Regions from separate parts of the Homo sapiens genome. Here all the other regions are linked to region 5. The links are contacts of gene promoters, found by promoter capture Hi-C in human tissues and cell types (Jung and others, 2019). All regions are on one chromosome and are shown on one strand. Each heading gives the region's core, a stretch centred on a gene start or on the middle of the fragment in contact. The rest is flanking DNA. Distances are from core to core; before and after follow the strand shown.

Region 1 (3,520 bases), core at 16-2,515, 420 kb before region 5:
ATGGACACATCAAAATTGCTTCCCTCTCCCAACTCCCTTTCCCTCGAGGACCTAATTTATTTCACGCATTTTGACCTATCCCTGCTTAGAAACAACCGCTGTGATTCTCTGCTGAGGCATTTCCCTCCTCGCCTTTTTTGGCCCCCAGGCAAACCCACCAGGCCACAGCCCCTCTGACTATGATGTCAGCCTGGCTGCTGGGCCCAGCTGGATGGAGGTGTGTTTTATGAAGTTCAACCCTGCACCCTGGGCCATAAATACACATTGTACACATAAATGTACAGCTAACATTGCCCAGGCCCCTCCGAAGCACCATGTTAATAAGCAGACAGTAAGTCTTTAAAATATGGAAAAGTAGTTAATCTTTCCGCTGGCAATCTTTTGTAGCGGGGGGGGCTTTTCTCCTCTCAGTGTAGCTGCTTTCAGGGCTTTTCAACTCCTAGGATTTGGGAAAGAAAGAAGGAAAGTTGGCTGTGGGACTTTGAAAACAATGCTATCTTGCATTTGCTGTCATTAAGCATCTGCACTGAGTGATCACTCTGGGTCTGTCCTCAAGGAGTTTGAGCTCTAATCGTTCCAGCACGAGACAGACAGTCTGCTGCCTGTGGCAAAAGAACCACACTAGCCTGGGCTCCGGAGGGCTGCAACTTTGGGTTTGAACCTCTGCTCTGCCCCGGTTACTCTAGGTACTTAGTTTTTTGTTTCCCTATCTGTAAAATGGGCATAATTTTATCTTATTCATATAGCTGTGGTAAGAGTTTACTTATCCTCGTTGAGTTTCAGTTTTCTCTTTTGTAAAATGGGCTTGACCCTCACAGTTCACTTTATACTTGTTTTAAGAAGACATTAATACATTCTCCTTGTAGAGAACTTCAGGGTTACAGATGGAGTTCAAGTGTCCCTTGACAGTTACTCCCTGTCACAGTCCTTTCTTCAGAGGTAACCACTGTTGCTGGTGTGGTGTGTAACCTTCCTGACCTTTATTTATACATCCATGCATTAGATACATACATACATACATACATACATACATAAAGACAGAGCGATAGATATATAAAGAATTTATAGAAATGTGTCTTTTTTTTGTACTCACTTTATGTATAAATGCCAACTACTTACCAGGCAAGTAATCCTAGAGGTTACAAAACAAAAAGCCTTACCAAGAAATTAAGATGCTCAAATCACTTGGCTGATTGAATTCATTTAAAGCATATGGCTAGAAGCAAGGGGAAAGAGGACGGAGGATCTCCCTCCCTGTAACCTGTGTTATGCACTGTTCCTCTATTCTCCTCTTCTCTCTCCCATCTTCCCTTCCTTTCCCTTCCCTTGTCTCCACCCTCTCCTGCTCTGTCTCCCACTGATGGTGTAGCGAGGAGGACCACACTTGAGGGTCCTCAGTCTGGAACAGGGCCTAAGCAGGCAGAAGGTGCCTGCAGCCAGCACACACTTGCCTTATTGGAGAGGTGCAAGGGCAAGTGTGTAGCTTGCCTGTAACCTCCTGAGCAGCCACACATTTATCTGTGTGTCTCAGGCAGAGAATGGATGTTGCCAGTGAGTTAATTTAAGGATGAGCCAGGAGAGAGCTATCATCAACCTAGAGACAACAAGGTCTGTGCCTTAAGAATTGAGCGCATTTAATTTTACGTGGTCCTTCCCTTCCTTCTTCTCTATAGGAAGACACTTCATATGTTCTTCCTTTACTATTTCTGTTCAACTTGCATACGCTCTACTTATTGAGTCCATTTACTCTAGTCTAACATGAGTCATGGGTCACTTAAGTGCTATCTATACCTAATACATCTTATAAGTTTTATCCATCTCATTTATTTTTCTTGTTTCTCTGTAGCAGAATTAAATATTCTTAAATAGTCCTAAATATTCTTAAATACTGGTACTTTACGTATAGTTTTACAACATTATTTTCCCACTCAACGTCTTGGGTCTCCTTTCATGACAGTAAATAGAGATCCTCTTCACCCTGTCACCTGGTGCCAAGAAGACCACCGAGTGGACATATTCTTGCTTATTCAATCATTGCCCCATTGTTGGACATTTAGGTGGGGTTTTTGCTTTTTCTTTCTTACAGTGAACGTTGCTACCAAGAGCATCTTTGTACATGACTTCTTGGGTTCTGAACATGAGTTTACTTTACTGAGAAGTAAAACTACAGAGAAATAGGGTGTAAAAGATTTCCACTATAATAATAACAAATTGTCCTCATAGTAGCTATAAGTTTCACTTTCCCACCTGTGGTATAGAAGAGTATTCATTTCTTCAGACTTTCTCCATTATTTGATATTATCATAGACTTAAATTTTTACCCATGTCCTAGTCAAATCATTATTTTCACTTATACTTCTCTAATTTTTAGTGAGATTGAACCCGCTTTTACCTATTTGTTACTCATCTGTGTTTCCTCTTCTATGAATTGTCTCACGAGTTTCGATGCTGGATATGGCAAGCAACTGCCCTTCCCTTTTTTATAAAACCCAATCTTTTATGATTGTCCAGACTATTCTCTATATTTACTCTTCTGAAAGAATCCTAGAATCATGTTCTCAAATTCCATAAAATATCCTATTTTTATTGAAATTGCTTTGAATTAAAAAGTTAATTAAGAGAGAAATGACATATTTAAAATATGAGTGTTCCTTTCCACCACCATTGTACTTCCCTCCAATTTTTAGCTAGTATTTTTATGTTCCTCAGTAAATTTGCATCATTTTCTTCATTAAGGCATATGTTTTACTAGATTTATTCTTGGGCCTTTTATACTGATTATTGATACTATCAATGGTTCTTTATTTCACAAATATTTTTCGTTGGTTATTGCCAGTGTCAGGCTGTGGTTTTATATGCTGATTATGTAACTAGCCAGCTTGCTGAGTTCTTTTATTAGTTCTAGTAGTTGGTCAGTGGGTTCATGTGGGTTTTCTATGAACACAGCAATATCTGTTCTCTGGGTGATTGATTGGGTAGAATTCACCTGGGGGTAGATTCTCAATGAGCATTTCAGTTTTGTTCATGGCAATTGGTCTGCTCATGATTTTTATAGCTTGGCCAAATGTAGATAATTTATGCTTTATCCCCAAAGGCGTGTTTTCTCTTAAGTTCTCAGATTGTTTACAATGCTATACATAATGGTCACCAAAAAATGTTGAAAATGCTCCCGTATCTTACAGGTTATAATGATACTTTGTGACTTAATTTCTTGATCATGAGTGCCAAAGTTAATTTATGTCAGTAAGCTTTTAAACCAGAGTTTGATTCTGTTGGTTATCTTCACAGTTTAATTTTTTATTCTTCTGCCTTTATCATTTCAAGTTCTGTCACTGACTCAACAAATACTTACTGAGAAGTTGCTCTATCCCAGGCACAACCCTAGGTGCTAGAGATAACTCACAACCTCAGGCAGTCAGGTGCAGCCCTGTTGCCTTGGAAACTACAGTCTTTTATGAGGGGCAGACAGTAAACAAGCAAGGAAGAAGAGGCAGAAGGAAAGTGGTGAAGTCATTGGTGT
Region 2 (3,750 bases), core at 139-2,638, 330 kb after region 5:
GGAGTCTGAAATAGTCAATAAATCCTAAAAGTCAGAATTAAAAAACAGTACAGTACTACTAACTTTTATACCTCGATGAATGATATCAATGTATATCTCACTCCAGATCAAATATTCAGCAATTATCAAATGCTATTACACTGATAAGATTTCTATGAAACACACAGTACAACAGTATAAGAATGTTTCTTCTTTCAAAAGAAAAACAGAAACACAGAAGCTGACCTTCTGCTCAGATGAATCTAGGTGTGAACTCTCACTGGCTACTTGCAAGCTGGGATACTTAGCAAGTGACCTAACTATCTTGACTTTGTTCTCCACTTCTGCAAGATGGAGGCATTGACACCACCAACCACAGAGGGGTGCTACGTGTGTGCAATGTGACAAGGCAGCTGAAGCACTTAGCACAATGCCTAGCATTCACCAATTGTTAGAAATGCTTCTTATTTTTAAAGTGCCTCCAAACTCACTACATAGATTCACTGGCAACAATTCAGCAAAGAAACTTCTAATGGATTCAGAGAAGGAATACGTTTAATATTTTCTAATGGAAAGCATTTCAGAGTTAATGTATATAACTTGTTTCCGCAAGTCCACAAGTATCTTTATGTCTACTTGGGCACATAGGAAGGAACAAGCTTTTACAGATACCAGAGTACCTTGCAAGATTGGCTGGCACTGGTGCAAGCTAGTGTGGGTCACTCCATAGAAATTCATTTTTCTGCACTAGCTCTTAATGGTCCTTCTCTGCTGGGCATTTTCGGCTATGGTTTAAAGTAAATGCATTCAAATAAACATCTTTTGGTGCCAGAAATGCCATGGGCACATACTTTTCTTTCAATGGTCCTGGGAAGTGGTTTGTTAAACTATTGTTCTCGATTAAAAACTCGTGTGTTTGTTCAGTCCAATATGGGTCACCGCTTTGAGTGAAAGATCCCTTGACATGGCAAAACCTCGACTTGTGACAAGCCAGTGCCAAGTATGTCTTAACCAGATGCAGGCCAGGGTTTGATTAGCAGCCACTGAATTCCATGTAAAATCAGATAATGATGGTTTTTCGCCTTTCTGTTGAGCAAATATCCTCAGCTTTTAATCAAGTCTATACATGAAAACTCCTCTATAAATAACTTTATGCAGTACAATGGTTTTAAAACTATGGTTCATCTCAACTTTCCTGACCTTTGACTGCTTAATCTGAGAAGAACCTGTGCAATACCAACTAAAAATAAAGGAACTACACTATTTATTTTGGCAGATTCCATAAAGATATAATAGAGGGACATGTGGTGAGTGGAAATTCTCTACCACACACAGAGAGAAAAGAAAGGAAAGGCTCTGGAGCCCATTTTTGTTCTCCCACTTGTGGGATAGCATCTATTAGACAATGATGATATTAGGACGGCAGAGACAAGTGCCGCTTTGGAATGCTGCACCAGACTCCATGGCCATGCACAGAAGCCTTCTCTGCCCCGTTTGATGTCCAAAGGGTCCAACTCAAACCTGGGAAACATGAACCTTTTCAGAGAGGCTGGGGTCTCAGCCTGGGCTTCCTCTCCTTTCTTGTGGGTACAATTTGGGCATCTGAAGTTAATTACTTGCAGGTGCATTTTGGCTGCGTGCAATGGAGGGGGGTTCCCAATTAGCCTCTTGCAGGTGTAATTAGCAATTTCACCTCACTTTGAGGGGGCAAGTGGATAATTGTGCCCATGAGGTTGTTCCTAAAGGGGTCTAGCAGAATGCCCATTGCAGACTGCTGTCTGGAGAATAAGCTCCATGAAATGGGATGCTGAGCATTCAGGAGTAAGTGTCAGGTGTCCACGTGGGGTCTAGAAGTGGAGCCCCACATGGAGGGTGGGGTTAGGAGTTCCTTCTGGTTCTTCACATCCATAAAAGAGAGTGGAGCCACAAAACAGCATTGAGAAACAAGGACCTCAGGCAGACTCTCTGAGGCATAAGGGAGTAAATACTTTGGCCTGATGACATTGAGTAATGCAAGAAAAACTAGCTCAGAACGGGAGTGGACCAGAACTACAGAATTAACATTTTGTAGAACAAAAAAAGCAAAGCAACTCAGTGAAAATAAATTATTATTAACTTTGCCATAAGCCTTACACTTAAAGTGTTGTCACAGAAATCAACTCACGTGAGCTCATAAACTTAGTTATAATATTCAAAATTTTAATAACAACACTTACTGAGCACTTATGGTGTCTGACCTTATTCTGAAAGCGTGTGTGTATTCAACCGATGCTCTTAACAGACTGCTTTAAAGACTCGCTCTACCCATTTTAAAGAAGATAAATTGAGGCACAGGGAGATCAGGTAGCATACCCAAGGTTACACAGCGAGTAAGTAGTGGAGCCAGATCTCCAAGCCGGGCAGGGCACCAGATAGGTCACTACTCTGGGTGAGAAAATGTTCAAACAAGAAGATGGAATCAGGGAGTTGAGGCTTGCTCTGCAGGATGCATCTATACAAAATCATTAATTGCTTCATTCATTTGTTCAACCATCTGATCACTCAAGGAACATTTAGTGAGCCCTGGGCCAAGCTACTGCGCTGGCATAAGTGTAACGGAGAGGGAGACAGCCTTCTTAGCCCCAGTGTCAGGCTAATGTTTTATAACTTGAAGGTTTCCTTGGCTGCTTGTTCAGTGTTGGGAAGAAAAATGGGAGAGAGCAAGAGAAGAAGGAAGGAAACAGAATGAGGAAAAGAGACAGGTATGAAGGGTGCTAGAGCGTGTGAAGAAGGGGTAAAAAAAAGAAACCTTCAAAATGAGTTTTTCTTCTGAAAATGAATCCTTTTATGAGGGGGAGAGGAGAAACCACATCAACTGAACAGTGAGATTAGACTGATGAATGTGGAGGAGAAACCCTACTGTTCCTCCAGATGATTGCTTGCTTTAACAAGAATAGGTGTGCAATAGGACTGCCAAAAGTTATTCCCCATGTTAAAATCTGAAAACCAAAATGACCCCATCTCTGGCTCGCCGGCCACTGTGGTCTGTAGAGGGGCTAATTCTGAGCACTTGAGTTCTGGGAAACCCATCAAACACGTGGAAATGAGCTTGATGAGAATCGCTAGATGTGAAGGGGCTGAGTGCTACTAAGACAAATTCCACTGCCCCATTCCCTTACTGACCAACCACCTATATTTTATCATTTTTATTGAAGCACACTTTACCAGCGTCATTACATATTAACCTGTGTTGAGATTGAAACAGAAGATTCACAGTGATGCACCCTAAAGGATGTGCAAAACTTGAGAGAACACCAGGACCAAAAGAAACCTAACTTGTTTTCTGACAAAGCTGATGGTCATTCTAACAAGAGCTGATGTAGCATGCATGCAAATGTCTCACAGGGACCACCATTCAGTCCTCATGATGAACTTATGAACAGCTATGACTCCATTAACCTAATAACACCTAATACATACATATTGAGAGCTTCTGTGTGTCCCACACTGTGCAAGGCCCTTTATGGAGACTATCTGATGATGGAGAATATCTCTCAATAATCAGTAGATTACCATAGGCTGGGGCTCAGAGAAGTCCCACACCTTGCCTAAGGTCACACAGCTGGCAGGTGTCAGGACAGAGAGAGAATGTGTACATTCAGGTGTGTTCATGCTATGCTCCCAGCATTCACATGGAGTTGGTTAAAAAATGATCTTTCCTTTGATGTTTCCTAAGACTTCATTTAAAACTTCAGATTTTTTTTTCTTTTTCTGAGAGGGTGTAAAGGATAT
Region 3 (3,498 bases), core at 649-3,148, 310 kb before region 5:
AATGTACTCTGAAAGGTGGTATAAATTAGCAGAAAGTCACCCTAATGCACAGCAAATGCAAAGGCAGAGAGGCATTTGAAGGAGTCACTTATTTTAAAAACAAATCTTAAAGGAACACGTTTAAGCATAGAAGTTAACATAGATGTATAATTACACTGAAAAATAATTTTCATTTTTGAAATACATTTCCTTTTTGGAATTTAACAAACAGGTGAAAGAGATTTAGACTATAAAAGGAAAATTCGATTTAAGTTTTAAAAAGTTTGATGTTAATGGTTTTTGTGGGGATTTGAAAATTATCTAAAGATTTTGATGAAAATCTCTCCACATGAATATTTAACAAAACATCTACAAAGAGAAATTTTATGTTGGTTGAAAATGGAATTTTTCCACCCACTCTATCAATATCTTTTTTCTTTATGATTTTGTTTAATTAGTATATTATTTTATTGTGAAACATTTCATGGCCAGTACAGAAAATCAGAAAGTACAAAAAGCAAAAAGGAAAAAATGAAAATATTCATAATTTAACCAGAAATATCTATCTTGGATTATGTCTTTGGCTAACCCTCTTATGCATATATGTATTCATATTAAAAACGATATTTTTCAAAAACAATGTTAACTTAATGTATTGGAACATTTTTCATGCTATTGATTATTAAATATTTTAAAACTTGGGGACAAGAAGGCATCTTGTTTATCAAAGTTTTCTAGTTGAAAATTCACTCAATAAAAATCATTTGTGATCTCAAATCACTCACTTCATTTGATCCTCCCAAAATCTGGTGAGGGAGGAGGTGCAGGCACAATTGCAGGGAATGGAGCCAGAACTGTTAACATTCCTGGTGAGACAGCAAAGTCAGAGAGTGTCCACGAACTCCCCAAGTTCATACTCAGCTGGTGAGTAAAGGAGACGGGACCTGACCCCGGGCCTCCTAATAATAAATCCCAAATCCCACCTTCTGGACTATCACACTCACATGGCTTTCTCCCTTGTACCACTCAGGATTCTGCTCAAATGGAACCTCCTCAAAACCCCTTTCCTTTCTCATCTTGTTCCTTGCCGTCTCTGTGAGGACCATGACACTAAGTTGGTTTCCACCTGTAGCCTAGCACCAAGCACAGCATCCAGTATATAGTAAATGCTCAACAAAGGTTTGCTGATCGAACACCACACCATGGTGCCACTGGATCTCAACACGACCACAGTTTGGAGAGTTGTCAAAAGAGATGATGAACATAGGCTCTGACAAGCTAGCATATCTGTTTAGGTTAATCTGAGTAAACAGACTGAATCAATGTACTGGTTGGATTAAATTAAGTTCATTATTTTCATCTCTGGGGAAAATCAATAAAACAAAAGAAGATTATGCGAAGCAGATAAAACAACCATTATTGAACTAAAAACAAACCCCAAAATAACAGCAGTTGATTTTTTAAAAAAATTCTGTTTAGTGAAGAAGCAAAAAATTAATCAATACTTTTATACTATCTAAATAACCAGATGATAGGATAGCCAGACTCTTGTCACTTCCTAATCAGCTATTTCTATGTGTATGATAGAAAATATTGGAGTACATCTTTGCAGTTTGTTTATTATTAGTTACTGTCCTTTTTAAGAATGGACCAATAGGAAAGCCCCCTAGTGGCCAGTTACCGATTACATCGCTTTTTGGTTGGCACATTGAAATTTTTTAACTAAAAACAGTCCTGTACACGGCTGCATTTCTGTTTAAGCACTGTTTGTCAAAAGCACTTTTTTTAAGAAGCCAGCTTTTCTCACAAATGTCTAAAAGTTCTACATTTGAAACATTTAGTCTCTAAGAATTCTTTGTCTTTCTCATGTTTACAAGCATAAGTAGTTCCTATATAAAGCTAAAGGAGGGCAAAAACTGTATTTCTCTATCTTCTTGACTACTTGGTCTATTTTAAACGTTTTCTTTTTTCTAACTATTTTCCCCAGTAATATTCACCCAAAGAAATGTGCAGTCAGTCTCTACTAAAACTACAAAAAATTAGCCGGGCATGGTGGCGGGCGCCTGTGGTCCCAGCTACTTGGGAGGCTGAGGCAGGAGAATGGCGTGAACCCGGGAGGCAGAGCTTGCAGTGAGCCAAGATCGTGCCACTACACTCCAGCCTGGGTGACAGAGCAAGACTCCGTCTCAAAAAAAAAAAAAAAAAAAAAAAAAAGAAATGTGCAGTCACAGTATATTACTACACATTTCATACTGAAATGTCTTTATTAATTATAAAGTTAGTCTCCAACTTAAGTTAGTCTCACTAGAATAGTAGTATAGTTTTAAGTTGATACATTTGAAAATAATTTATTTGAATAACTTCATTTTCAAAAATACATATATAATTTGAATACTGTTGGGGTAAATGTGATGTCACCAGGAATTATAATACTGAAAGAAGTTAGTTCTCAAATCTTAAAAACAAAGCAACAAAATCTCAACTTACAGTTTTTGAAAATATAAGATATTTTTATTTTGAAAAATAATGTCAAACTGTATATATTTTAAATATATTTAATATTTATTCTAAAACCCATTTTCTTAAAAGTGAAATGTAATATCTGAAGCCTTTCCTGTAATGATAATTATTGCTATCTGCATTGAGCAGAAACATTTTAATGATCCTTTTAAAGGATGCAGTAAAAACAAAACATGCAACCTTCAACCGATTCCACCTTTGTATAAAGTAACTCTTCTTTCGAGATTCACATTTCATCTGCAGACTGATACGATGCCATGGCATTTCAGGAAATGTAAATGCAAACGAAAGACAGTGATGAAAAATGAACGACTGATGGGTTTTATTTTGTTATTCCAGTACTCTTCCTCCAGTTTATGCAGTTTATTTTCACTAAGCCTTGTTATCTCTTTTTGTGTATTGTATTCCTTTCAATAAATGAGTGGCTTTGATCGTTTTTCAAAAATGAAAACACATATAGGCCATGTGTACTCATATTTTTCTGAACCTGTACAGAACTATGCAAAACAAAAAAGAACACATCTTTCTCTTTCCAAAACATGGCTGTGTTTCATTGCTAAATTTTTATACATCGTAATTTCTAGAGACCTCTTCTTAAATTGTCATTAGTAGAAGGTCATTCTGGCCATGTGAATTATTGTGAGATTTTTCATATACATAAAAAATAGAAAAAGGCTTCCCATTCAGGTATTTCAGTCGCTTTCCTAGTTTTGGTTGATATGATATACTTAACATTGGAGCCATTTAGAGATCACCTGTGACTCAGTTAAGGCAAGAATGAAAAACATTTCTTTAAAAGTTTCTTGAACTCAATTAAATGGTATCCCTACCTCCCCCTTCTCCCCTTGCCCTTTTGTAGGAGATGGCATGTTACTATGAAATATTACTGCCTTGCTTGGGCAACTTTATTTTGGGCTTTAGTTGTGGAGGAAGTGGAAAATTTTAAACATTTTAACCAAATGGATTAAAGAGATCATCTCTGTGCTTCCTTTGCGTGGG
Region 4 (3,731 bases), core at 609-3,108, 390 kb after region 5:
CAGTGTCCTAAACCATGCAGTAACTTTCTTTTTTCTTTCTTTTTCTTTTCTTTTTTTTTCTTTTTCTTAATTTTTTTTTTTGGCAGAGTTTCTGCATTCAAATTAAGTCCCTCAAGGGAAGGAACGAAAAAGAGCCCAGCATTTCCTAAGTTTCATCTACGTGACAGGGCATTTATTTAGTGGAATTACATACAGGAGGGTCTTGGAGATTGCCTTTGCCTTTCACTTGGGATGAAAATTTCCTCTGCAGCATGCAAAACAGGTGAGAGTGTTCCTGCTGCTACAGAGTTCTTTTGCACTAAAAGAAAAATCTTCCTCCTCTCAAATTTTGCCTACCAACTCTAGCACAGTCATCTGAGGCAGCATGAATCAAGCCCAGTTTTCTTCTTACAGTCACTTCCTTAACAGTTAAAAGAAGCATCTGTCTTCTTGGACTTCTCTGGACCTAATACCCCTTATAGGTCAGCTATCCCCAGCACAAAGAGATTTTCAGGAATACCTCAACTTGTTCACTCACTACATGCCTCCTCACAGTCTACCAACCATGGTACCCAGAAATGAACTCAGATATGCACTAAACATACATGCATACACATACATGTCTGTTAGGAATAGACTAGAGGTGTAATTGCAAAGTTGTTTTTTACTGCTAAGTGACATAACATACCAGTTGACCTATTTTTCTTCACACTTTATTCATGTTGTCAGAGACTGCCAATTGCCCCCAATATCCATTCTTTCCTTTCCTTCCTTAGAACTGGATTCCCAGAATGCAGCTAAAGGCTATATTTCCCTGCTTGGTCTTGAAGCTAAGTATGACCATGTGGCTTAAAACCCTGGCCAGTGGGCCCCTTCCCCCACACTTGTTCTCACATCTAGTAAAATATAAGCTCCACCAACAGGAGGATTTTTGTTCATAGAGTCCTTTCTGTTCACTAAGAACAGGGCTTAGATAACTGCCTAGGGCTTAGAACAGTGCTTGCACATAGCAGATGCTCAGCAAATATTGAATAAACTGTGAAATGACTCAGATGTCAATGGATGGGATGTGTAACTTAAAGGACAGGGAGGTTTCTTTCTCGTGCCTCCTTTCTGCTGGTTGGAATAGGGATTGGATAGCTGGAACTGAAGCAAAAGTCTCACACTAAGAGGTGCAAGCAAATGCTAAAAATGGCAAAATGTCAAGACAGAAGGAACGTGAGTCCCTAGTGATTACAAAGCTACTTGTATGAGCTTCTGGAATGTGGGGTTTTCTGATTCTTGCATTTGAAGCTAACTAGAACATTCCTCTATTCTAAAGTTATTTTCTTTATAGTTAAGTTTTACTTACCCACTATAAGTTTTATGTTCAGCATAGTTTTTTTGTTGTTTTGTTTTGTTTTTGCTATAGACTATAAGCCATCAACTTCAGAGTTAAAAGAAGGAAACAGAAATCTGGAGTAGTAAGCAACTGTGCATTTATGTCACTGCCTGCAGCTAAAACCAAAATTGGTTTTGAATGAGTCATTTTTTGTGACATTTATTCCTTCCCTCTCTGCTACCTGTCCTGACTCACTACAGGTAACTCAGAAAGCTGCAATAGGCTTTATCAGTGTTCTAGCTGATTTAAATACCTGTTGGAACTGAGCAGGTAGTAAACAGAAACAGATGACAAACAGGACATTCTAGGACACATTACCATAGTATTTAATATTTTTAAAATTGGACATGTTAAAGTTTTTCTCAATAAACTACTGGTTAAAGAAAGAATAGTATTATAGCAAAAAAAAAAAAGAAAAAAAAGAAATTCTTGAATGGAGAAGGCCAAGTTGTAAATTAAAGACAGGATTAGTGTATGCTAACTGTAATGAATGTACCTAACATACTAATATATGTATAGCCTTTTGTGGGTTAAAAATCACTTTCTCATGAATTTATAATCTCAGTCAATCCCCATAAGATCTCTGTGGGCTAGCACAACCCTCTTGTTTATTGAGTTTATCAATTTTAAGTAACAATTGGCTTCAAAACTCTTCTCCCAAACTCCATTTATCCTGTCCAAATTGCTAGGCACTTAGGATTCCTTCCTAAAGAAATGTGATTTGTCTTTTCTCATGTTGGCATGAAGTAAAAAATAAATTGATTTTATCATTTCTGCACCCTTGCTCTCCTTTGAAGGGTACTTACCTAATGAGTGGCTCTCTCAGAAAGGATCTTAGATCAAAGAGGCCAACAGGATAATGCCCTCGAATAAGCTGCTGTCTTACCTCACTGTAAATGTCCTAAAATAATCCAGTGTATACAAAGACTTGTGAGGCTATCTGGAGAAGACGTCTAAAACCCAACAATACCCAGTAAATTAAGATGAATTGCACCATATCGTCAGATGAGTTAAAAACAAAGGGGCCTGCTGAAAATGTTTGTATAAGCATAGGAAATCACCACAGAAAGTCTAAAATAAACATTTCAAAATATGTGACTATTAAGCAGGTATCAAAACCCTTATTCAACTTAGCATTTTATACTAAATGAAAAATATCAATTAGGATGCCTGTCTACCTATTAAACTACTATAGTAGTTTAAATCGTCAAAGCAAATGCACACAGATTTTTAAGTACTGTATCTCATGGCCCTCAATTTCTTTTAGCCACAGATTTCAACTCCACCTGCCATAAATTAAATAACTGGGCTTTTGTTACTGGAATGTAAGCTTATTAGCTGGCATTAATAAAATCAAACATAAAATGATGTTCTTAATATGCTTTTAATAAAATTCCTTTAAAATAGGAGTAAATGTAACAAAATTGAACAATTATGAAATGTTTTAGCAAGAAGTTTTGGATATATTTTAAGTACAAGAATAATCTTATACACAAGGAAAGGTGAATATTATGTACTATGAAAATATATGGTTGGTAACTGTTAGTTTCTTCCAGCAGAGGAATAATAACTGGCAGTTAGAATATCAACCAATAAAGACCAGACTGAAGAAGGGTATTGCTGTGGTTTGAATATTTGTCCCCTCCAAAACTCCTATTGAAATTTGATCCCAGGTGGGGCCTAATGGGAAAACGGTGTTTGGGTTGTGGGGTGAATCCCTTGAATAGATTAATGCCCTCTCCCTTGGGGGTGAGTGAGTTCTCACTCTGCTAGTTTCCCTGAAAGAGCTGATTGTTAAAAAGAGCATGGCTCTTTCCCTCATCTCCACCTTGCTTCCTCTCTCCCCATGTGATCTCTGCACATACAGCTTTCCTTTCCCTTCTGCCGTAAGTGGAAGCAGCCTGAGGCCCTCACCAGAAGCAGATGCTGGCACCAAGCTCCTTGTACAGCCTGCAGAACCATGAGCCAAATGAACCATTTTTCTTTATAAATTACCTAGCTTCAGTATTCCTTTATAGCAACACTAAATGGACTAAGCCAGGAATGTTGAGGGAAATAATCATACACATGTATACAATTGGACTTCTGTATACATAGGTTCCACATTTGTGGATTCAATCAACCACGGATCAGAAATATTTTTGGAAAAAATGCATTTGCACTGAACATGTACAGACTTTTTTTCTTGCTATTATTTCCTAAACAATACAAATGTAACAACTATTTTCATAGCATCTACATTGTATTAGGTATAAGAAGGCAGGAGATGATTTAAAGCATACAGGAGGATGTGCGTGGGTTATATGCAAATACTATGCCATTTTATATCAGGGACTTCAGCATCTGTGGATTTTGGTATCTAAAGGAGGCC
Region 5 (3,535 bases), core at 760-3,259:
AAGGCCGCGGGGATGGCTCCGAGTTCTGCGCGCATAGTGCTAACCCCTTGAGCACCGGAGCGCACGGGGGAGGGGAGGAGAAGACAGGGGACTCTTGGGCCGGGCCTCCTGGGGAGGGTCTTCCGTTGAGAGGGTCGGGGGGTGGAGGAGACGAAGGCTACTACGTCCTGGACCCGAGAACAACTCCCCTACACACACAAACACACACGCACACACACGCAGCCAAGGATCCACACACTCGGACACACACACATTTGTCGGCCCGCGGTTCGCTGCGCACTCTCCGCATTGCCCCCTCGAAACTCCCCTGGCAGAGTCTGTCTAGAAACTAAATCTGGCTGGTTCGGCAGTGAATGTGCGAAGGTGGCTGGGGGGAGGGCAGGGGCTGAGGAGGTGCGACCTCACCGCAAGGCCCAAGTTACTTCCAAACAGCGAATTACCCATTTAAAGAGAGAAGAGAGAAAAGAGAGGCGAGAGAGGAGAAGGGGCCTCGATACCAGACAGGGATTAGAAAGTCAAACAGGGCCGTGGGGTCTCCAGACTTGAAGTTTTTTGTTGTTGTTTTTTTTAACTTTTTGGGGGGAAGAGGGGTTATTTGCTTCCAGGAAACATCTTAATTTCAATTCTAACCTTATTTTCTAAGAAACTTAAAATGGGAAAGACCAGAAAAATGGAAATAGGAATCGAAGCTTGGAGGACAGATAAGAAAAATTGTTTAGAAAATAAAAACTTATGTTGCAGGAAGAAACGTTAACTTTTCGTAAAAGTGAACTCTCAGTGACCCTCGGAGTGTGTGATTCGGCTTTAACATACAACTGACAATTAAAACAAACAAGAGTTCGCAAACTGGCCCCCGCCTGCTCTCCCAAAGCGGAGGCCCAAGTGTTTTCTAAAGGACAAGGCGGACTCCGCTCAGGGGGCCGGGGAGCGCTGTCCCGGAGTACGGGATTACAGCCACTACCACCACAACTCCCCGCCCCCACCACTGCTGCAAAGTGCCTGAGCTCACCCAGTGGCGGCTAATAATGCTAATAACGCGACCCCGCTCCCCGCGCCGGGGTGCGCGCTGGCCCCCCGCCAGGCACTCTTAAAGGCAAAGGGGCCTGAAGCGCTCGAGTTACTCGGCCAAGGCAAGCCTACAATCTGGCCTCCGTCGGTGCGGGGGGGTGTCGGGGAAGGTGTACGCCGCTCTGGAGTAGTTGGCCCCTAGTTCCTCTGCGGGTTCTCTCAACCAAGGAGTCCCTTTCCCCATCCCGAGCCCCGGCCACACACCGTCCCGGTGCCCGCGCAGTGGGCGCTTGGTAAATATTTGTTGAATTGAATCATTATCCTGTTACTGAAATATACATAGTAAATTACACTCGATGTTCTCAGAGCAAAAGGAAAGTCGTCAGTGAACCGCACTCAGTTTGTCTACTATCGCTCTTCCCCACTTTTTCTCAAAAATCAAAATTGTTTGCAGAACGGGTGGTGCGACCAGAAGTGATCTCCTGGGACACTGAGGCAGTGCGCCCGGCGTGGAGGGCGAAGGGGTAGGGGTTCCTGCCAGCGACGCTGGAGTTCCAGCTTCTTCAGGCGGTTGGGGAAATGGAGGGATAGGAAGAGGCGAAGGGAACTCAGTTAACTTCCAACAGGGGGTGGGGGGAAGTAAAGAAAAAAAGTGGCAGCGCACTGAACACCTACCTTCATGGCGAGGGGGAGGGGGCGCGGGGAGGAAGTCGCCACCCGAGCGAGCGCAGCCGAGGAATCCGAGCGGAGCGACCGGGTTAAGCCTGGGGGGACGGTCAGGAGCAGGGCTGCGGAGTCCTCCGGCGCGCGTCCGGCGGGCGCAGTGAACCGGAGCTGAAGCGGGCACTGGCGCCCGGGCCTGGACTCCCGAGTTGGGGCAGAGCTGGGATGCGCCCAGGAATGGAGGGGGCGCGGACGCGCGCGAGCCGGCAGCAAGGGCAGGGCCTGGTCGGGGCGCAACTAGGGAGCCGCCGGTCCGGCGAGGGCGCGCAGGCAACTGTTCCACGGAGAGGCGCTCCGTTTCCAACGTCCATCAGCGACGGCGGTAATTAGGGCTTTCCAACCCCAAATGTGGGCGTGATTGTGCAAAAGACCTTACGACAAATAATAATAAAAAGAAATTCTTCACAAGAGGGTGAAAAAAATGTACCACTACTCAACTGTGGCCCGGGGCGGGGGAAGGGGGGCGATCTGTGCGCCCAGGTGCCCCCAGTTCATTCACACCACAGATTCTGCAAACTCTTGGCGGCTCACGCCTCCTGATCTCCAGCTCCTCCTCTCTGGGTCTGTAGCCGAAACGTCTGCTTCCAGACGCTGATCCTGCAGCCGCGAGTTAGTGTGGACGTCTCTGTACACACACAGACACACACCCCAACACACACACCCCCGCTGCAGCTTTGGGGCCACAGAACAATCAGGCGCGCATGGCTTTTTCTCCGGGAGATGCCGCTGAAAACGCACAAGTCGCCATCTGAGCTGCAAGAGTCAGCCCCAAATTGTGTCCTTTCATTTTAGGGTTCGGCAAAAACGGGGAGCAAAATAGGTGAAAGTCGCCCCGGAACTTATTGCTGTGCGGTGAGCTGGAGGGGTGCGACTAACCCAGGGGAGACGCGGGCTCCCCCCCCCCACCACGTATCCCGTTCTTTCTCTCTTCGGGTTGATCTCTCTTTTCCCCGTTTTTCCAGGGCGAAGGGCGAAGAGCAGCGAGTGCACCGCGGGCGCGAGGCTGGGGAAGGGCGAGAGCTCGGAGCTCCGCGGCGGCGACTCAGCTCCGGCGGTCCATGGCCGGCGAAGCTGCCCACCTCCTCGTTTGGCGCCCGGGTCCGAGGGGCGGGAGAGCGGGCCGGCGGGAGGCGGGCGGTCCCGGGCACAACGGCGGCGGCGGAAGGGCTCGCTGGGCAGCTGCCGCACGGACCCCGGCTCTGGGCGGCGGAGGCGGCTCCGTGGAGCTCGCAGCAGATTTCCACGCGATCCTGTGCCCCGCAAACAGACTGACCGACCGCGGGGACGCGTCCCCCCCTCCCACCCCCCAGCCCTTCTGGCCAACTGCCTTACTCTCTCCCTCCCTCTCTCCAGACTCCTCTTTCCCCTGGTGTTCTCAGAAGGAAGAAAAAAAAAAAAAGAAAGAAAGAAAGAAAGAAAAAAGTTCTTTAAAGTTTCAGAACTAGGGGCGGCTGGAAAGAGAGAGGGAAGGGGGGGGAAGAAAGAAAAAACTCAACTTTGCTATGCGCATGCGTGGTGAGGCCGGCCTATGACAAACTCTGCAGGATTTTAAAGCCGTACTACGGGCTGGGGTGCCGGGAGGCGGGGTACACTCTCCTTGTCTCCCCTTCTCTAAGTTCCCCATCCCCCGCGGCATCTGCTGAAAGAGAGAGGTCCACTCCGCAGCCGCTGCCTGCCTGCCGCCTGGTTGTCTGCGCTCCTTCCAGAGCCACCGACCGGCGGGAGGCTGAACCCCAACTTCCCCGCCTGGACCCCTTGGCTCGCCCGCGTATCCCAGACCGCTCCCACTGGGGCTCCACGGAGA
Region 6 (3,673 bases), core at 507-3,006, 310 kb after region 5:
GAGGGTGAATAACAACCCTACTATCCCCCACCTCCAGATAAGCTACTTGTATTCAAATCCTTGTCTGAAGGCCAACTTCTGGGGAAACCCAACCCAGACAATGGCCCATCCCCTAGCCAGACTGTGAATTCAGTGAAGCTTGGGACTAATGTCTTTTCATTTATCAGTGGACAGCAGCCATGCCTACCGTATGTCTGGCACATAGTACATAAATGTTTACTGAATGAATGGTAAACATTCAAGGAACCCTTGTTTCATTCCTGGTTTTCGACTCAAAGGCAATACAGAGCTCAGCAAAGAGCTTCGGCTCTGGAGTCAAAAGACCAAGTTCACTTCAAAAGGTGGAATCCTCCATTCCTGATGGGTGTGAGTTTGGGCAGGGGTGGGTAACCCACCTGGGCCTCAGCTTCCTCTTCTTGTCAACCAGGGTCATCATGAGACTCAAGGAGAACTGTTTAAAATTGCAGGGAGTTACACAAATTAAATAGTGTTTATTTTAGGCATTCATGTAATTCTTTGTGACTAAATATGGGGAAAGAGATTTTGTTCTAGATAACACAAGCACTTGTGGTGGGAAGAGGAAGTAAATGAAAATTGGGGCTGGGTAAACAGTTAATTCCACTTGGAGAGCCTTTAGAGGCAGAGATCTCTGTTTTGATAAAGATCATTTAAATTCCAAAAAAGAAAACAGAATGGAAATGAGAAAGTAAGTTTTTAAAAGTCCAGAAATAATTGCTAACTATAAACAGACATAAAAGATAGGTACATATCTCTATGTATGTGGAGATATGTATGTGTGTATATATAAGTATATATATATAAAACAGCAGACATGTAATGAACTATATTAAATATGAAAATCTTACTATGTTTTTCCACTTTGTTTTTGTCCTTTAACAGCTTCAGAATTCTAAAACTCAAACACATGTATGCTGAGAAATGTCTGAGATGTTTTTAGGTCAAGCTAAAATCAAATGTCATCTCATAATCTTATAATCTTCATAAAACTGCTTTTATTTTCAAGACATGCAAAAATCCATATTAACCCATCAGGCACAATTTTGAATATAGGACTCGAATGAAAAATTAGAGTGTAGTCAAAAACAGTGAAATTCTTATTTGTGGTCAATACTGAATGAATTAAATGTCTTTTGACATCTTTTTAATTTAAGGACCAGCTTTAAGAACAAAAATTCAGAGATACAAGGAATCCAGATTCATTTTTCTGCCCTTTATTTAACTGTTTTGTATTCTAGTGGGGAAAAAACATGGAAAAATCTGATCCACCTTCCTATTGATTAGCACTCTGCAAGAGTAAGGAGTATGTGAACATTTTTACTCCAGAGTTCTCAAAGTTAATCTTTCAAGGCTGGGCTTTCTCTCCAGACCCTCACCCACGACTGTGTATCTTATGTATTCATGCACATGGAGGACATAAAATACATGTCAAACAAAATAAAGCAAGTTATTAAGTACAACAAACCCCTAAATCTTGGTGGAAGTCAACAGATAAACAGACTATAACAGACTATAATAGTCTAAGTACACAATGCATAATTCATGGCTAAACCAAGGCTAGGCTTGTGCAATATTTCACCAGCTCCCCTTTGCAATCTTTGAGGTTAAGACTGGGTAAATTGCACTGACTGCTAACTCAGCAAAACTGAAAAATTAGAAAAGAAACCCCTAACCTTTCCAATAATGGGAACAGGCAAGAAGGCAGAGGGTGGAGAAAGGTATTGTTTAGCTCTCGAAGCTAGGCATTTAAAAGTCACTGTGTGCCTAGCTCTCAAAGCTAGGCATTTAAAAGCCATTATCTTATTAATATATAATTTTATTGTTGACAAATGTTTATTTTTCTGCTAAAATTAAGAGAGCAGATCACTTCCCTTCTTACACCTAATCACCAGCCCCTGTGCTCAGTTCACAATAGGCCTTCAATAAACATTTGTTTAAAGAACTTCCTTTTGATTTCCATTTGTTGTCTATGGAATGTAGCAATGAAATGTGAAGGTGAATATGCAATGACCAACAATAGTAATGGAAAGGTGAATAAAATTAAGCACCTCAATGCAATCTGGATCCCGGACAACTTTTCCATTTATTATTTCCCAAAATGTAGAACAAATGAATGTGCATGAATTTCCCAAAGCTAAGAAGTTGAAACCAAGTCCTTGGCAGCACTTCAATAGCCACAAATGAGGCTCTATTCCATTAAGGACCACCATGTCTTCCAGGGAATAGAGAGCTGGTGGATTCTGGGTGTAGAGTACAGTGTCATTTTTAGCAACTAAGAAATGAGAGAGGGAAGACAAATGTCAAGTCAGCACCAGCAGAAATTATTGTGTTTCCTGACAACGGGTGAACCATGCCTGGTGATGCTATAACCCTGAGCCCTGGGGAGTATATAGATTGGTCCAAATAGCAATATTTGTGCTAAGATAACTGTGGATGCAATTTATTTACTTATTTTATTTTATTTTATTTTGAGACAGGGTCTTCCTCTGTCATCTAGGCTGGAGTGCAGCGCAATCTCTGCTCACTGCAAACTCCGCCTCCCAGGTTTAAGGGATTCTCCTGCCTTAGCTTCCTGATGTAGATGCAATTTAATTCGTTCAAGGTACTCTGCAAATATTTTTAATAATACAAATTGAAAGAATGCTATAAACACAAAAAGGTGAGAACTCCTGGTTTAGCCTTCTAAGCAAATAGATTTAACCAGTCATTAACATCCCCTTTTGAATGTGTTGAGGTTGATGGTTATTTGCTGATCAAAAAAGCCAGGTGAACATTCTAATTACAGAATGTCTGTGACTTATAGTCACTGCAGGACTGTTTTTGCCTAAGAGTAAGCAGAAAAGATACTGGTTCTGCAAAGTTTTTATTCAGTGCTATAGGGAAGGTTTCTTTCACTGTTTAAAGTTTAGAGGGGCAGTGGGAGACTTAAAAAAGAGTTGTTATGATTATTTCACAACTCATGTTATTTTGACATATTGATGATATAAATATAATAGCAGATTGCATTGTTAATAAGAAAATTAAAATTAAAAACAAAAGAGCCTAGATAAAGCAGAAATAATTTACACTGAATCTGTTAAAAGGGATAACACTTCACTTCCTATGAAAAATCGTATTATTTAGGGCCCCCGTCTACACCTAATCAAGTTACTTAAAACCTCAGTACATCACTAATGAACAAAGAGAGACAGAGAGCAATAGAAAAACTTGAATGGTAGCTCGAGGCTTTCATGAAATTTAAAAGATGATGGTGAGTGGAAATTTTAAAAATTTGGATGTGTTCAAGTAAAATCCCTGTGTAATTGCCTAGATATAGAAATAGTGCCAGATCTCTGCAACATAGGCACACAGATTAGAATTTCTTTCTGGACCTTTAAAATAAGCATTAAAAGCAAAACCATGTACCTTTCACAATATGGAAATAAAAACTAGTACTCTCACAAAATGTCCCTTCTCTGAGTTGCACTTTAATGTTATGGCACCCTCTTTTATTGGGAGTCATTGTAGGAGACAGTGATATGAAAACCACATCTGCATTTGCTGGAAAGGGCTGTCAAAGGAATTATCCATTATCTATAGAAAATCACACATAAGAAACTCCTTTTGCTATCTGGTGCCAGGAAAATCTTTATCTCTAGAAACTAATCTGTTTCCT

What was found. Contacts are between HindIII fragments. The study calls those that stand out against the background at their distance.
Region 1: a contact is called between a fragment that was not itself captured here and the fragment with the promoter of WNT5A in region 5, in 1 of the 25 tissues and cell types used here (IMR-90 fibroblasts).
Region 2: a fragment that was not itself captured here is called in contact with the fragment with the promoter of WNT5A in region 5 in 1 of the 25 tissues and cell types used here (H1 embryonic stem cells).
Region 3: a contact is called between a fragment that was not itself captured here and the fragment with the promoter of WNT5A in region 5, in 1 of the 25 tissues and cell types used here (IMR-90 fibroblasts).
Region 4: a fragment that was not itself captured here is called in contact with the fragment with the promoter of WNT5A in region 5 in 2 of the 25 tissues and cell types used here (H1 embryonic stem cells and IMR-90 fibroblasts).
Region 6: a fragment that was not itself captured here is called in contact with the fragment with the promoter of WNT5A in region 5 in 2 of the 25 tissues and cell types used here (H1 embryonic stem cells and mesendoderm cells).

What each region holds. Positions count from the first base shown.
Region 1 is chr3:55,066,714-55,070,233 of GRCh38, forward strand. All of the region lies in intron 35 of CACNA2D3 (calcium voltage-gated channel auxiliary subunit alpha2delta 3), which reads left to right. Among named protein-coding and RNA genes, the nearest start is that of LINC02017, 110 kb to the right of the region's middle. The HindIII fragment of the contact is 5,644 bases long and covers 1-3,520 here.
Region 2 is chr3:55,818,319-55,822,068 of GRCh38, forward strand. All of the region lies in intron 14 of ERC2 (ELKS/RAB6-interacting/CAST family member 2), which reads right to left. Among named protein-coding and RNA genes, the nearest start is that of MIR3938, 32 kb to the right of the region's middle. The HindIII fragment of the contact is 3,158 bases long and covers 1-2,967 here.
Region 3 is chr3:55,179,497-55,182,994 of GRCh38, forward strand. All of the region lies in intron 1 of LINC02017 (long intergenic non-protein coding RNA 2017), which reads left to right. The region is part of intron 2 of LOC124906243 (a long non-coding RNA gene); the gene reads right to left. Among named protein-coding and RNA genes, the nearest start is that of LINC02017, 3.1 kb to the left of the region's middle. The HindIII fragment of the contact is 6,692 bases long and covers 1-3,498 here.
Region 4 is chr3:55,879,030-55,882,760 of GRCh38, forward strand. All of the region lies in intron 14 of ERC2 (ELKS/RAB6-interacting/CAST family member 2), which reads right to left. Among named protein-coding and RNA genes, the nearest start is that of MIR3938, 28 kb to the left of the region's middle. The HindIII fragment of the contact is 7,322 bases long and covers 1-3,731 here.
Region 5 is chr3:55,485,297-55,488,831 of GRCh38, forward strand. WNT5A (Wnt family member 5A) reads right to left here and starts at 2,010. Exons shown (of 5, transcript NM_003392.7): 1 at 1,684-2,010. The coding sequence starts at 1,689. WNT5A-AS1 (WNT5A antisense RNA 1) reads left to right here and starts at 2,322. Exons shown (of 2, transcript NR_046656.1): 1 at 2,322-2,583; 2 at 2,694-3,012. The HindIII fragment of the contact is 9,126 bases long and covers 1-3,535 here.
Region 6 is chr3:55,790,598-55,794,270 of GRCh38, forward strand. The region is part of intron 14 of ERC2 (ELKS/RAB6-interacting/CAST family member 2); the gene reads right to left. Among named protein-coding and RNA genes, the nearest start is that of MIR3938, 60 kb to the right of the region's middle. The HindIII fragment of the contact is 5,182 bases long and covers 1-3,673 here.